Regions from separate parts of the Homo sapiens genome. Here region 2 is linked to region 1. Evidence: promoter capture Hi-C in 16 types of primary human blood cells and fetal thymus (Javierre and others, 2016). All regions are on one chromosome and are shown on one strand. Each heading gives the region's core, a stretch centred on a gene start or on the middle of the fragment in contact. The rest is flanking DNA. Distances are from core to core; before and after follow the strand shown.

Region 1 (6,837 bases), core at 84-2,583:
GTATACTGAAAATGAGTTCCCAGAATTAGAATGGACAAGTCAAAGGGCATACAGATCTTAATTTTGTTAAATTCCATCAAACTGTTTTCTATTATAGCCCCAAGAAGTTCCCCTTGACTGTTTCCTTACATCCTCATATTGTTTTATGAGTCCTAATAATTAAATATCCCTTTGTTGTGTGTTGCCCTTATATTTCCCATTGTATGTTTGATGTTGTTTTTCTCTTACTATATAAAAGTTTTAGATTGTTAGGTAGTGACATTTATCAATCTTTTTGCTTATGAGAGTTTCCAAATTTCCTGACATGCTTCGAAACACCTTCTCACAATGAAACATAAATACATAAATTCATCCATAAATGCATAAATGAGACAGATCTGTAAATATTGATAGAAAACAACTGGACACACAGTCTTAAGTGTAAAAGCCAATCACAGAAGAGTATGCACAATGTTACAGGTGTAACTACATATTTGCGTATGTCTAAAACACCTGTGGAAGGTGGCCTGGAGATGGGGAGAAATGGGTAGATGGAGGATTTTCACTCTTCATTCTTTTTACTATTCGAACTATTTTTTTATGTATTATCTATTCAAATGAAAATGTTTAAATCTTATTGTTTAAAAAGCAACCTCTATCATGTTTGCATACAAAAAAGTCTCCCTTTTCACCTACATTTCATTCCCTACCATTTAAAGCTTAACACATTTAGAATGTAGTATAATTAGTGAGGCAGGGATCCAGTATTGCCTTCTACCAAATAGATCTGTTGAATTTTTAGGTTTGTTAAGAGGCAAAGACCAAGGGTGGAGAGGAAGGAGTGAGAGTGCCAGGTGAGGAAAGTCTAAAATCTCTCGACTTAATATGAGAATGGTGGCCACGGAAGGCTAAGAGTCTCTAGTGCCAGGTGTGGGTTATACACACATCTTCTATGCAATTACCGTGACAAGCACCCAGGGTGTGAGGTGAGGTGTACCTCCTAGCTTGATGCTGCTGGTTCAAGTCCCAAATCAGAGAGGGGAAGCCAAAAAAGGAGCCGAGAAAGATGAGATGCTTCGCACGGTTTTTAAAGTAAAGTCGGAACATTCCTGACCGACTAGGCAGCCCCAGGCGCTCAGGTGGGAATCACTGCCCAGCACACAGAACCCAGAGTCCAGCGCGGCTGTCACCGGCTCTAGGCTGGATCTAAGCGTCGGACCAGGAGGCCGCAGTCAAAATCTGTTCTCCTACCTGTGTACGAAACCAAACTATTCTCGTCGAAGTGCTTTCCCAGGCTCCTAAGACGCAGCTTCCATACTCGCCGCGTTCTCAGCTGTTGGTCGTATCCTAGCAACGGCCCTGGCACCACCTCTTCCTGCCGGAGCACGGCAGGGGTGGGAAGGAGAGGAGCCAGAGGCGGGTGGGGGGGAGGAGCCAGAAGAGGGCAGCGGGGAGGGGCCGGGAAGGAGGAGCGCGGCAGGGTAGGGGGAGGAGCCAAAGACTGGGGGCGGGGCCGGGAAGGAGGAGGGCGGCAGAAGAGAAGGGGATGAGCCAGAGGCGGGGAGGTGGGGCCGGGAAGGAGGAGTGCGGCAGGAGAGAAGAGGAGTAGCCAGAGGCGGAGGGGCGGTGTCGGGAAGGAGGAGCGCGGCAGGAAATAAGGGAAGGAGCTAGAGGCGGGCTGGGGGCCGGGGTCTGGAAGGAGGATCGCGGTAGGGAAGAAGAGGAGCCAGAGGAGGGGGATGGGGGCTGCAAAGGAGGAACGCGATAGGGAAAAGGGGGAGGAGCCAGAGGCGAGGGGGCGGGGAGAAGAAACATGGCAGGAGAAAGGGGAGGAGCCAGAGGCGAAGAGACAGGAAGAGGGACGCGTCAGGGAGAAGGGGAGGAGTCAGAGGCGAGCGGGCGTGGAGGAGGGAAGCGGCAGGGAGAAGGGGCGGGGCCAGAGGCGAAGGGGCGGGGAGGAGGGACGCGGCAGGGAGAAGGGGAGGAGCCAGAGGCGGAGGCTGTTACCAACTGGCTACCTAGATCCAAGTGAATCAGGACACTAACTTCTCTCCAAGATCTTTTACACTTGTGAAACGGCACAGCTCTCTAAACCAAACACTGACAGCAGTTTAATTTTACAGATATAAAAAAAATCCGAGTCAGAGAAATCATCACGATGAAGTCAGAGGCGAGAAACTGTCAGGTGCCTACTTGCTTTTGTTAAACTAACAACTTGGCTCTCAGCTTCCTGGCAGCCAAAGAGAAAAGGGAGATAGTAGCTATCAAATAATTCTGCTTAGAAGAACTTTTGTTAATCACTAAATTAGTTAATAAACTAAATTTTGTCTAACAACAAATTCTTTTTTTTTTTTTTTTTTCTAGTGTATACAGAGTCTTGCTCTGTCGCCCAGGTTGAAGTGCAGTGGTTCGATCTCGGCTCAATGCAACCTCTACCTCCCTGGCTCCCGCGATTCTCCTGCCTCAGCCTCCTGAGTAGCTGAGATTACAGGCGCCCGCCACCACCCCCGGCTAATTTTGGTATTTTTAGTAGAGATGGGGTTTCACCATGTTGGCCAGGCTGATCTGGAACTCCTAGCCTCAAGCAATCCGCCTTCAAAAGTGTTGGGGATTACAGGAGTGAGCCACCGCGCCCGGCCTATCAATGAATAAGAAAACTTTTAAAGAACCACAGGATAGTATTGGAGGTCAAGTCAAGTATGTTCCTCTTGGAAATTTAGTAACAAACTACATGTTGCTATCTCATAATAGCAGCTAACATTTATGAAGTATTCATTGTCATGAGGCACCGTACATAGATTTCTAATTTAATCCTTACAACGATTTTATTAGGGAGAAACTGCTATTAGACCCATTTTGTAAATGAGAAAACTAAGGCACACAAAGTTTAATGAGGGAACCAGGATTAAACCTAAGCAATCTAACTCCAGGTCCCAGATTTTTTAACCATTACAGTACTGTTTAATTTGATTTGATATGTTAAAAGGATTAATAAAATTAATACAGGTCCATTCCCTTATTCATAAATGTTCATTGTCTTCATTTATTTCTTTATACTGTTCTGCTGAAATTGCACTCTCATCTCCCCAATAACTTTGTAATATCCAATGCCATTTTTTTCAGTCATCCCATTTTAAAATATATTTTTACTAGAATAGTGAAATATATATTCAGATAAAATTGGCTTTGTTTTAATAATGATCAGTAAAAGTAAATTCATTTTAATCATTTCCACACATTCATGAAAAGTAAAGGGGAAAAATGGGCATAGAGGTAACCACTAGAATTAGGCTTTCTTGGATGGGTAGACCAGGTGTGGAGGTGTGCAGATAAGATTTTACAAACACTCATACACTCCCATCTCCAAAATCATAATTTATCTTACATTCTGCTACTAATAAACATTCCACTGGTTTTAAACATTCACTTTGCTGGGTCTCCTCTTTAAAATTTGTCATTCACTGTTCTCAATGTTAGAGACGGTATGCAAACAGTAGGTTTAGGAATAGAGTCAGGAGATGGGGGAAGAAAAACTGGTAGGAGAGAACTTAAGTGTCTCACAGTGTTAAATGTGACTTGATAGCCACTATTCATTTTTTTTTGTAGTTTGCTGTGAGGATGACTTTATACAATTTAATCTTAAATAGGAACCTAACTTAGTTAGGCTTCCTTGGGTAGTCTGTGGAGCATGGAAAAGTTATTAGCATGTCAAAATCCTGTCCACGCACACATACACGCACATACACACAAATGTAGTTTGGTTACATAATAAATTTATATTCAAACTTAATGAAAACAACCAATAGGAAAAAGCTTCTCAATTCCAAAAGTGAAAGAGTAATTTTACAATACCATTTTCCATTTTCCTTTTCATGATAAATCTATGCATTTTCTCAGGATTTATTCCACCAAACGACTTCGTATTTCTCATGAAACATCTACCTTTATTCATCTCAGCATTTATTTATGTAATAAACATTTCTTTTGATGTGCTTTTATTTTTACAAAGATGCCACCTAGTGGCTTGATAAAATCAAGCATTTCAAAGTATCTCCTGTTGTTACTACAGGTTAAAATGAATAATGAATATTTTTAATATTAAAATAATTTAGAAAACTAAGGACCTGAAAATTTTTGTTTTGGAAATTATTTAGATTAAATTTGGATCATAATACCACTTTGTGAACTTGTTAAGAGAATGGAAATATAGGTCTATTGTCCCTTTTCTGAAACCTTTTAAGACAGATGTGTTTGATATTCACAATTTTTCAGATTTTTGAAAGGAAATATGGGCATATACTTTACATTATGTAACACATTAAGAGGGTCTGAGGAAGCAGTTTAGAATCAAATATATTGATACATCTGTGGCAAAATATATTCATATTCACATTGAAGTGCGATAAATACCACAAATAGCCTCATGTAATTCAGGTGGGGTTTGTTGCCAAATGAGTTATGAAAAAACTTTGTTTTCAGAGATTTTTGAAATTAGGAATTTAGATAAGGGACTTTGGACCTGTTTTACTCTGGTGAAAAATAATTCACCCTCCAGTTATAGAGAGATTAAAATGCCAATATTTTGTAAAAAAAAAAAAATAGTTATCTTTAGAAAACCTAATAGATTCACCTAAAAAAAAATTGAAGATCATGAGAAATACCAAAATAGAAATCTTTGCAATGCTTTTCATTTAATTATATACAGATGCCAATCATAAATTACATTTAAGTGTACCACAAAAAATTAGCTGCTAATGTAAACCTAAAGACCAATTTGAAAATTATTAGTGATGCATGGCAAGTTCAATTCATAAATTTTGTGGCACAGTCAAAAAAAAATTTAACCTTGGTTGTTTCTTTTTTTTTATTCCTATGTGTAATTTACCATGTTCCAATTCCCCACCACCACTATGGTCATGGAAATATATGTTGATGGTGCCACACTCAGCCTGGATTCCTTGTGGGTCTATGAGCACTCCTTGCCAACCCTCCTTAGACATGCAGTATGAATAAAAAATACACTTAAGACACTGGGATTTAAGGATAACCCATGCTAAGTCACTACATGACTCACTATTTTACTTCACGATCTAGAATACTGACTCATCTCTAGTCTCTCAAATGAATTCTTCCTGTCCCCATCAATCATTCAAACCCCTTATCACATTCCCACTGTGATTTCCTGTGAATTTTGTCTAAAATAAAACGTCGACCTCCTCTAAACACAACTGGTAGCCTCTCATTTACTTTTCTCTAAAACAATTGGCATTACTATTGTTGTAGCATAGGCTACAATCTCACTGAACACTTAGTTTTTGTTTTTGTTTTTAGTAGAGACGGGGTTTCACCATATTGGCCAGGCTGGCCTCGAACTTTTGACCTCAAGTGATCCACCCACCTCGGCCTCCCAAAGTAGTGGGATTATAGGTGTGAGCCACCACGCCTCCCTACTGAACACTTAGTTTTAATGGGAAGACTGCACTCAGCAAATCCAAAATACTAGTGATATGTTCAGCAATTTGGTACTTAATCCCATACCCCACAATACACTTGTGTAGGGTGTTAGACTTCTGTATGTTTACATAATCATAGAGGATGGGAGGAAAAAGAAAAAGCTGCTATTAGCCTACATGTGGGAATTTTCCTATATATTGTCATCTCCCTTTTAAAAAAGATACATTCATAAACATTGTTATTGGCTTAATTAGCTTCGCTCCTCTGAATGTGATTAGAAAATTGACAATAAAATATAAGCTCTCTTTTCTTCCATCCCCCAATTCTGAGGGAAAAGGAGGGGGAGGGGAGAATGAGGGAGAGTGAAAGGATACAATAAAACTTGAGGCCTGATTGCACATGATGACTACTACTGCTGGCATCAATTCATTCTATTCCAATGACAGACTAGTTGATCCTACTGGTGTGGGAAAGATGGCAACCTTGAGACCTGAGCCTTACTCCAGTAGGGTGCCCCCCTATATCTTGTTTGCCCAGGACAGTCATGGTGTACATCTGTTATCCTTATGTAATTATTTTCACTCAAAATCATTCCAAGTGGAATGATAAATTATCCTATAGTTATCCTAAATATAAGCCATTTTCATCCCAAAGGAAAGAATGCCAAGAAATTGGAATCGTCTGCACTAAGTCCCAGTGTGGGAGAAAGGGGGCATCAACTTTGTTGCCATTTCTTCTTTCTTAGCAAAGCTCAAATTGATTAGCTTCTCTTTCTTTTGAAGTATCTGCAGTATGATGATTAACTAGAATGAAACCCATGGGAGAACTGAAATAGGCCATTCTGAAAATTATTAAAATTAGTTTAGTAGCCACTCAAAACACTGAAGATCTCTGAATAAAAGAATCATTTGCAAAGTGATCAGGAGACTTAACCTGGATGTTTATAGGAAGCAACTGGGAAAAGACTGAAGGAGTAAAAACGATCAGGTGTAAAGTTCTGTGAGCAATTGAGACAGGAGAAAGAACCAATGACCAAATTGCAATACCTTTTAGATACCTATCCCATTAACATAATCTGCCTATAACCTATATGCAGCTCTTTGCAGAAAATGAAATCGTTTACTACTTCTGCTCATATTTGTTCTTTACAGATAATTTTGACAGAAAAGGTAAAGAGAGCAGGATCTAGTTTCATTTGGTACAGCCCATACAGCACAGGAAGAAGTCACAACATCCCAAGCATATTCATAAATAATAATATAACAGGAGCATCAGTTCTAGAACCAGACTGCCTGGGTTCAAACTTCAGCTTCACATCTTACTAGCTATGTGACCTTGGATTTGTTATTAAATCATCTCTTGGTTTCAGTGTCCCCAAGGCCCCAAGTTGCATAATTGCAGGGG
Region 2 (6,837 bases), core at 3,074-5,573, 2.6 Mb before region 1:
CAATAAAATTAGAATTCAAAAAATATACAGAAAAATCTTCACAACTACCTAGAAATTCAAAATTCTAGTTAAGCAATCATAGAGTGAAATAATGTCAAAACCAAAATTTTAGAATATTTGGAATATATACTAATGACAACAAAACATACATAATTACTTAAGAATGAATAAAAATAAATGAACTATGTATTGAACTCAAGAATTTGAAGAAAGAATAATCAAATAACATGAAAAAGAAAATTGTTTTCAATAGTTTTTTGGTTAAAACAAATAGATTCTATGTTTAATCAATTCAGGCAGTTTATACATTTTATCAGAAGACATCAGGAAGCTCATTAACCCTCCAGCAGGACTCATAAACTAGGCTTAGAAGCTCCACAGCCAAGAGCCACATTAAAAAAACACAGCACTGAACTGAACACACAGTTATCACTGCTAAATATGGAAATTGCAACTTGTACCATCAGCTCTGCTCTGGATGTGAACGCTGCCACTCTTAGAATGAATTTCTCATGATGCCAGCTTCCTCATCAGTTTCTGATTCAGTCTCCTGTGAGTCCATCTGATTGGGAGAGCTGAGGTCACATGCTGTGCCATAGTCTCAATGTTTGTGCCCCACCCCACTCACAAACTCATATACTAAAATCAAATCCCCAGTGCAATAGCATTAAGAGGTGGGGTCTTTAAGAGGTGATTAGGTCATGAGGGTGAAGCCCTTATGAGGGGATTATTGCCTTTATAAAGAGGACTAAAGGATCTGGTTTGCCCTTTATACCCTATGAGGATTTACTAGTGCTTTGGTCTTGGACTTTCTAGTCTCCAGAACTGTAAGAAATAAATGTCTGTTGTTTATAAATTACTCACTCTGTGGTGTTGTGTTATTGCAGCCTGAAAGAATTAAGGCATGCTTTAAAGAAATCTGGGAAAGCAATAATCTACCTGGCCTTTGTTCCTGTAAGATAAAGAACTCCCCAAACCTAGAGACTGTATTTCATAACAGCTCAAAAATACGACAAATACTCACCACAGCCCACTGCATTAGCTTCTCAGCACTAACACATACCTTTATCAAACTGAAACTTCTGAAAACTCATCAACAAAAACAACTTAACATAATGCAACATAATGCCACTATTCCTCATATAATGAAAGCAAGTTCACCCTCTAACAAAAAAGGAAACAATTCAGGTCTTATAAATTGCTATATCTAAACCAGCAAAATCACAGGATTGGAAATCAAATATTTGGGAAGCACATCACTCTCATTTGAATTCTTACATTCTAGGACTCAATACATTCTGGGTACTAGACAAGCAGTTCTATATATTGGTTCCTAGTTCCAAATATATAGATATAAATATACAGTGCATCCTATAAGACAATACACCAACCATATAAGGTGTCTCCCAAGTGGCACTAAATCTAAGTTTGAAAATTCTACCAATTCATAGTGCAGACTCTTTTGAGATTATTATAAGGTAAGACTTGTGAATCCTATAAATATTACCTCATTGCTTTATTTATTTCACTGTGAAATAAATTATTGAGTCAGATACAATGACTGTGATTAGATATTTAGTCAATCCATAGATGGTGGCAGGGAAAGTGAATCAAAACTGACTTTATCCCACTAAAGAAAATATAATTGCTCCTTCTAACTTGGAAGATGTCCAACATATTCACAAGCTGGGCATAATTAGTTGCTGTTGCTATTATTTCTGGTACATAGTAATCACGCTACCAAGTCAATCTGGATGACGAAAAATTCCTGTTGAGCTCAAGCAAAACTTCTGCCCTTGCCACACGTCCATTGAGCAAGCCTCAGGGTTGAATAGGAAAAGTAACTGACAACATCCACAGAGTTGGGCATCTTGCTCACCTGATTAAAGAAAGCCTATTTTTCTGTGGAGGTATTTTTGTAAACATTCATATGAGACACAAATATTCTCATACATTGGGTCTAATACATATCATTTCCCCCAAAGTCCTCGTTACCAATCCTCTAACGTTGCCTTTCCCAAGTCCCAGATCATTTAGTCAAATCATTAAACCATAACCATGAATTGGTATGCCTAGTTCCTTATCTCAGGTCATCCCACTCTACAATTCTTCTTTTCTTTAAGTGAAAGCAAATTTACTAGAGAAGTAAAGAAACAAAAGAATGGCTACCCCATAGGCAGAGCAGCCCCACTCTACAATTCTTATAATTAGCATTGCTTCCATTCTGTTCAGTTCTTATGGCTACAGCCTAGCCCAATGATGCACCTTTTATCTGACTTTACTGCAGAAGAAAGTGTCAGGAATCATGATGGAGTAGTCCATGACGGAGCCTATGGCTTATTTGAAATTATACTATTCGGCAATAAAATCCAAGAGAGTACAGGTGAAAAAATAAAAGGGTGTGAGGGAAGAAGGCACAGATAATATAAGAGGATGACGTTTTGACCTGGCCACTCTTTAGTACTACTGCTTGTCCTCAAGAAGTGTATATCTAGAGCACATTTCTGGATAATCACTGGGTAGGCTGGGAGGTGGAGAAACTCATTGGTTGCCACTCTCCAGTGGTCAAAGATTTTCCCTACAGTGTGTTAACTTTTCTGCAGGGTGTGCATGCATAGATGTGATCATGTAGCAGAAGCAGGAGGTAGGAGACATGAAGCACAGGCTGGAGGTCAGAACTGCATGATACAAAGTGGAAGAAGCCCACTGTGTGACAAGGGTACAAGGCATCCCTCTGATTGTGCCTAAGTGATGTCAGTTAAATCTCAGGCAGTTTGGAAAAATAAACAGATGCCAGAAACTCTGATAGAATTCACCAAAGTTGTCTGATATACAAAGACTCACATCTGTAACTTCTTTATATCCACTCCTGGAAGCATTATTTTACCATATAGTGAGCCAGCGTAATGTCCAGTAAAACGCTGAAATGATCAAGGTCCTGAGGGATTAAACTATGGCATGGAGCGGAAGCAAGATAGTAAAGGTGCACTGCTGTCCCTTCTAGATGAAAGACACCTTTTTTCACTGTTCTGGCTTATTGGGATATAGAAAAAAAATAACATTTCATAGATAAATAGTTGCATACCAGGTCCCAGAGTATGGGCTGACTTGCTCCTATAAATAGACCACATCTGAAACAATAGTAGCAATTTGCATCACCATACAATTTAACTTTGAAAGTCTGCTTTCATTCTTGCAAAGATGTCTTATGCTCAATGGCAATGGAACAAATATCAGAACCACTAAGCTTCTCGTTATTCCATAATAAATAATTATGGAGCTATTAATATATGCCAGATACACTTCTCAGTAATTATGTACAACAGTTAATAAAATAAAAATCCCTGTCCTCATGGAGTTCACATTCTAGTGAGCAAAAGACAAAAATACAAATCAATAAGATATATGTCTAATCTTATATGTTGTATAAGATATAGCTATATATAAATAAGATCTGTATCTTATATGTATATTTTTCTATACATAAAATATATGAATATGTTTACCATATATAATCTTATTATCTTACAAATAAATTATATATATATATATAAAATCATGGACCACATAATGGCATTTTGGTCAATGACAGACCACATATGCGATGGTGGTCTCATAGTTACAATGGAGCTAAAAATTCCTATTGCTTAGTTATTTGTATTACAATTTCCTATAGTATGCAGTTCAGTAACATGCTATAGAAGCAATAGGCTACATACTGAACAGCCTGAGTGTGTAGTAGGCTATATCAACTATGTTTGCATAAGTACATTCTGATGTTCACACAATGACAAAATCGCCTAACAATTCATTTCTCAGTACGTCTCCTCATCATTAAGTGACTGTAATAAAGAAAAGAGCAGGAGTACTTGGTTGGGCAAGGAATTGGGGGGATGTTGAAATTTTAAATAGGGTTGCTAGAGAAAATCTTACTTAGAAGGACGTAATTTGACTGATATCAACAGAGTTGTAGTGGAGGAAGCAAGTCATGCAGACATATCTGGAGGAAACAGCTGACAGAAAGGTCCTTAGGTAGACACCTGCCTGGTGTGTTCAAGGAAGAGTCAGGAGGTTGTCATGGCTATAGTGCAGTGAATGAGGTGGAGTAGAAGAAAATGACAACAGAGAGATGACAGGAAGTCAGGTCATTTGGGGCCTTGTGGGCCATTGTAAGGACCGTGGCTTTTGCTGTGACTTAAACGGTAAACCATTGGAGGGTTGTGAGGAGAGGAGAAAGGTCATTTGACATACCTTTTAGGAGGATAACTATGTGCTACTCATGTAGAGAATGGATAGTAAAGAGGAAGGGGAAGAGGGAGGCAGGAAGGCCAGGTAGCACACTGCTACAATCATACAGACAGATTATGGTAGATTTGTCCAGTGTGGACTAGACAGATGTCTTCAAGGTTTAATGGTGGCACTGATCTCTCTGGTATTCCTGAAATGTGTTATCACTTGAGAATTGGATAGTGCTCGAAGGATAAAGTAATTTCCACTGGCCCTTTCCTAGTATTGTTTCAAAGCAGAGATTCTCCCAATTGCGCAGTATGTGAATAGCTATTTCAACATTACATTAAGGAACTGATGAATTATCAAAGACTGAGTTCAGAGGAGTAGTAGGTGTACTATGAGGCAGAGTTCCTTGAAAACTACATTACTCACATGAATCCTAGAACTACCTACATTCATCTGTGAACTGTAGAATTCTTTGTACTCAGGAAGCAACAATTAGTTAAGAGCAGTATCCAATAGTCTCAGAAAAGGTAGGTATATTTCACCTAAGTGTAAATTGTGTCTTTGGAGAAGGCTAGAAAAAAAAATTAATGGCATGGCCTTACAATGATGCAAGGTCCCTTTTCAAGTGCATCAATCTCCCCATCATTAAAGGGAATCTAGATGTATAAACTAATTCAGGTCTCAGATTCTAATATGGTGGTTCCAATTAAGATCCTGTTCTCCCCAGACCTCGAGTTTTTGGTTAGAGAGAATAAAGACAGCCTTAGTGTGTTGTCCATCTACTAATTTATATGAACCTGATTAACATTCAGCCATCAATCCCTGAACATTACTGAAGGTCAGATCATTCAGATTACCACTCAGGCCATGGAGATATTAAGAGGACTAAGCCCACTTCGCCCCGGTAGTTAAATGTGGCTATTTGGCCCATGCTATCTTGGATCCTAGCATCCCTGCTGCAATCAAAGAGTTCATACCAACTGCAGCATCTTCTACCAGCTTCCTTAGCCTACAAAGAATGTTGTTCCCCTAGAACATTTTTTAAAGTTACTGATGTGCTCAAAATACATTTCCCAGTGTCTTGATAAAGGGAAAGTCTTCAGACATACTCAGCAGATGTGATTAGGAGGAGGGTGAAAGAAGAGTATTTTATAAATTCATTCCAAGCTTCCTATCTCCCTAAGTCTTGGGTTCATCTCTCCAAGGAATTTTTGGCACCTCAATCCATTAAATACAGGCCACCGTTAAATACTTATTTAGTCAACTAGTCAAACAGAACTGCTTCCAACTGCTTAAGCCTACAAGAACCAGATTCACTGGCATATGCCCCCACGTGGAAAAATTCAGCCCAACCTAAACTTGTTTCTCTTGTCTTAGTTGAGCATCTTCACAATGCATTTACAATTCCATTCTCCCTATTATTTGCTGATATAAGTTAGAAAATCTTGCATATGTGGGTGCATTAACCTTTTCATCTTAAGTTTGACTTTGTATTTGGCCTTCTCTAAAAAAAAAAAAAAAAAAAAAAAAAAAAGAGGTGTTTTTATTTTTATGGCAGTGTAAGCTCAGAAATATTTGAAGATTTGGGGTCTCTGAGTTGTCCAAAACCTCTCACAGGACCACATTTCTGTTCTTCATGTCCTAAACTTTCATGGAAAAAAAAAGCATTGTGTTCACACAAGAGATATGGTAGGGCTGTGAATTTTTCTGATGCTACAATCCTACAACCGATAGGATCTAGTTTGAAGTTTACTGGTTGCAACACATTATTATTTTTTTTTGTCACAGTCAGACAAAAATTTGGGGAATGCATTGAGAAAATAGTTTAGTTTTCCACCGTTATTTTTTAACTTATCCAGCACAATGTTAAAAGCAAACACCTGATCTTTAATTCTTCACAGCCTTCACACTTGAGGACAACATAACTGATACCTAAATCAGAGAAGGCAAAGACTAGAAAAGAAAACTACCAGCCAATAATCAATAATCCTCATGAGCACAGACACAAAAAATTCTCAAAATATTGGCAATTCAAATCCATTAGTATATAAAAAGTATTGCTATAGTATAACCAAGTGGGGTTTACCCCCAGAAACGCAAAATTGGTTTAGTCATCAAAAATCAATCAATAAAATTTACCACCTAATCCGAATAAAGGAGAAAAATCATATGCGATATATGAAATTTAGATAAAGCATCTGACAAAATTCAACACCAATTACTTATTTTTTTTTCTTGGAGACAATGGAGTAGATGGCATGATTGAGAATTACAAGGTAGCTGAGGATGTAACAAAAGAAAAACAGAGAAATTACAAACTACAAAAACAGAGGGAAAATGAGTAATAATTAATGGTCCCAATATAAAACAAAGTAAAAAGTGGCATGATTTTGAGCATGTGATGGAGTGTCATAAAACGGTGTTGAAAACATTTTTCTTCAATTGCCCCACAGTTGTAATATTAAACCCCCAGAAGAAATGGTTCTTTGCCTTAGTATTAAAAAAATTATATAGTCATAGTGATATAAATGTTACTTATTTCTAACCTTTTAGAGTTATCCTATAGACATCCCAATAAAGACTCCAGGGTAATCTTGTTAC

The links. Contacts are between HindIII fragments. The CHiCAGO score rates a contact against its expected background, and 5 or more counts as called.
Region 2: a fragment that was not itself captured here is called in contact with the fragment with the promoter of IQUB in region 1 in 1 of 17 cell types (total CD4 T cells); the score reaches 6.0 in total CD4 T cells.

Annotation. Positions count from the first base shown.
Region 1 is chr7:123,533,262-123,540,098 of GRCh38, forward strand. It overlaps IQUB (IQ motif and ubiquitin domain containing), which reads right to left and starts at 1,334. Exons shown (of 13, transcript NM_178827.5): 1 at 1,231-1,334. LOC124901740 (a long non-coding RNA gene) reads left to right here and starts at 1,270. Exons shown (of 2, transcript XR_007060507.1): 1 at 1,270-2,164; 2 at 2,344-2,998. It overlaps NDUFA5 (NADH:ubiquinone oxidoreductase subunit A5), which reads right to left. Exons shown (of 5, transcript NM_005000.5): 5 at 3,736-6,837. RefSeq lists silencers at 1,401-1,630, 1,651-1,800, 1,881-2,010 and an enhancer at 2,081-2,220. The HindIII fragment of the contact is 3,094 bases long and covers 697-3,790 here.
Region 2 is chr7:120,933,199-120,940,035 of GRCh38, forward strand. No RefSeq gene overlaps it. Among named protein-coding and RNA genes, the nearest start is that of ING3, 14 kb to the right of the region's middle. The HindIII fragment of the contact is 2,156 bases long and covers 3,246-5,401 here.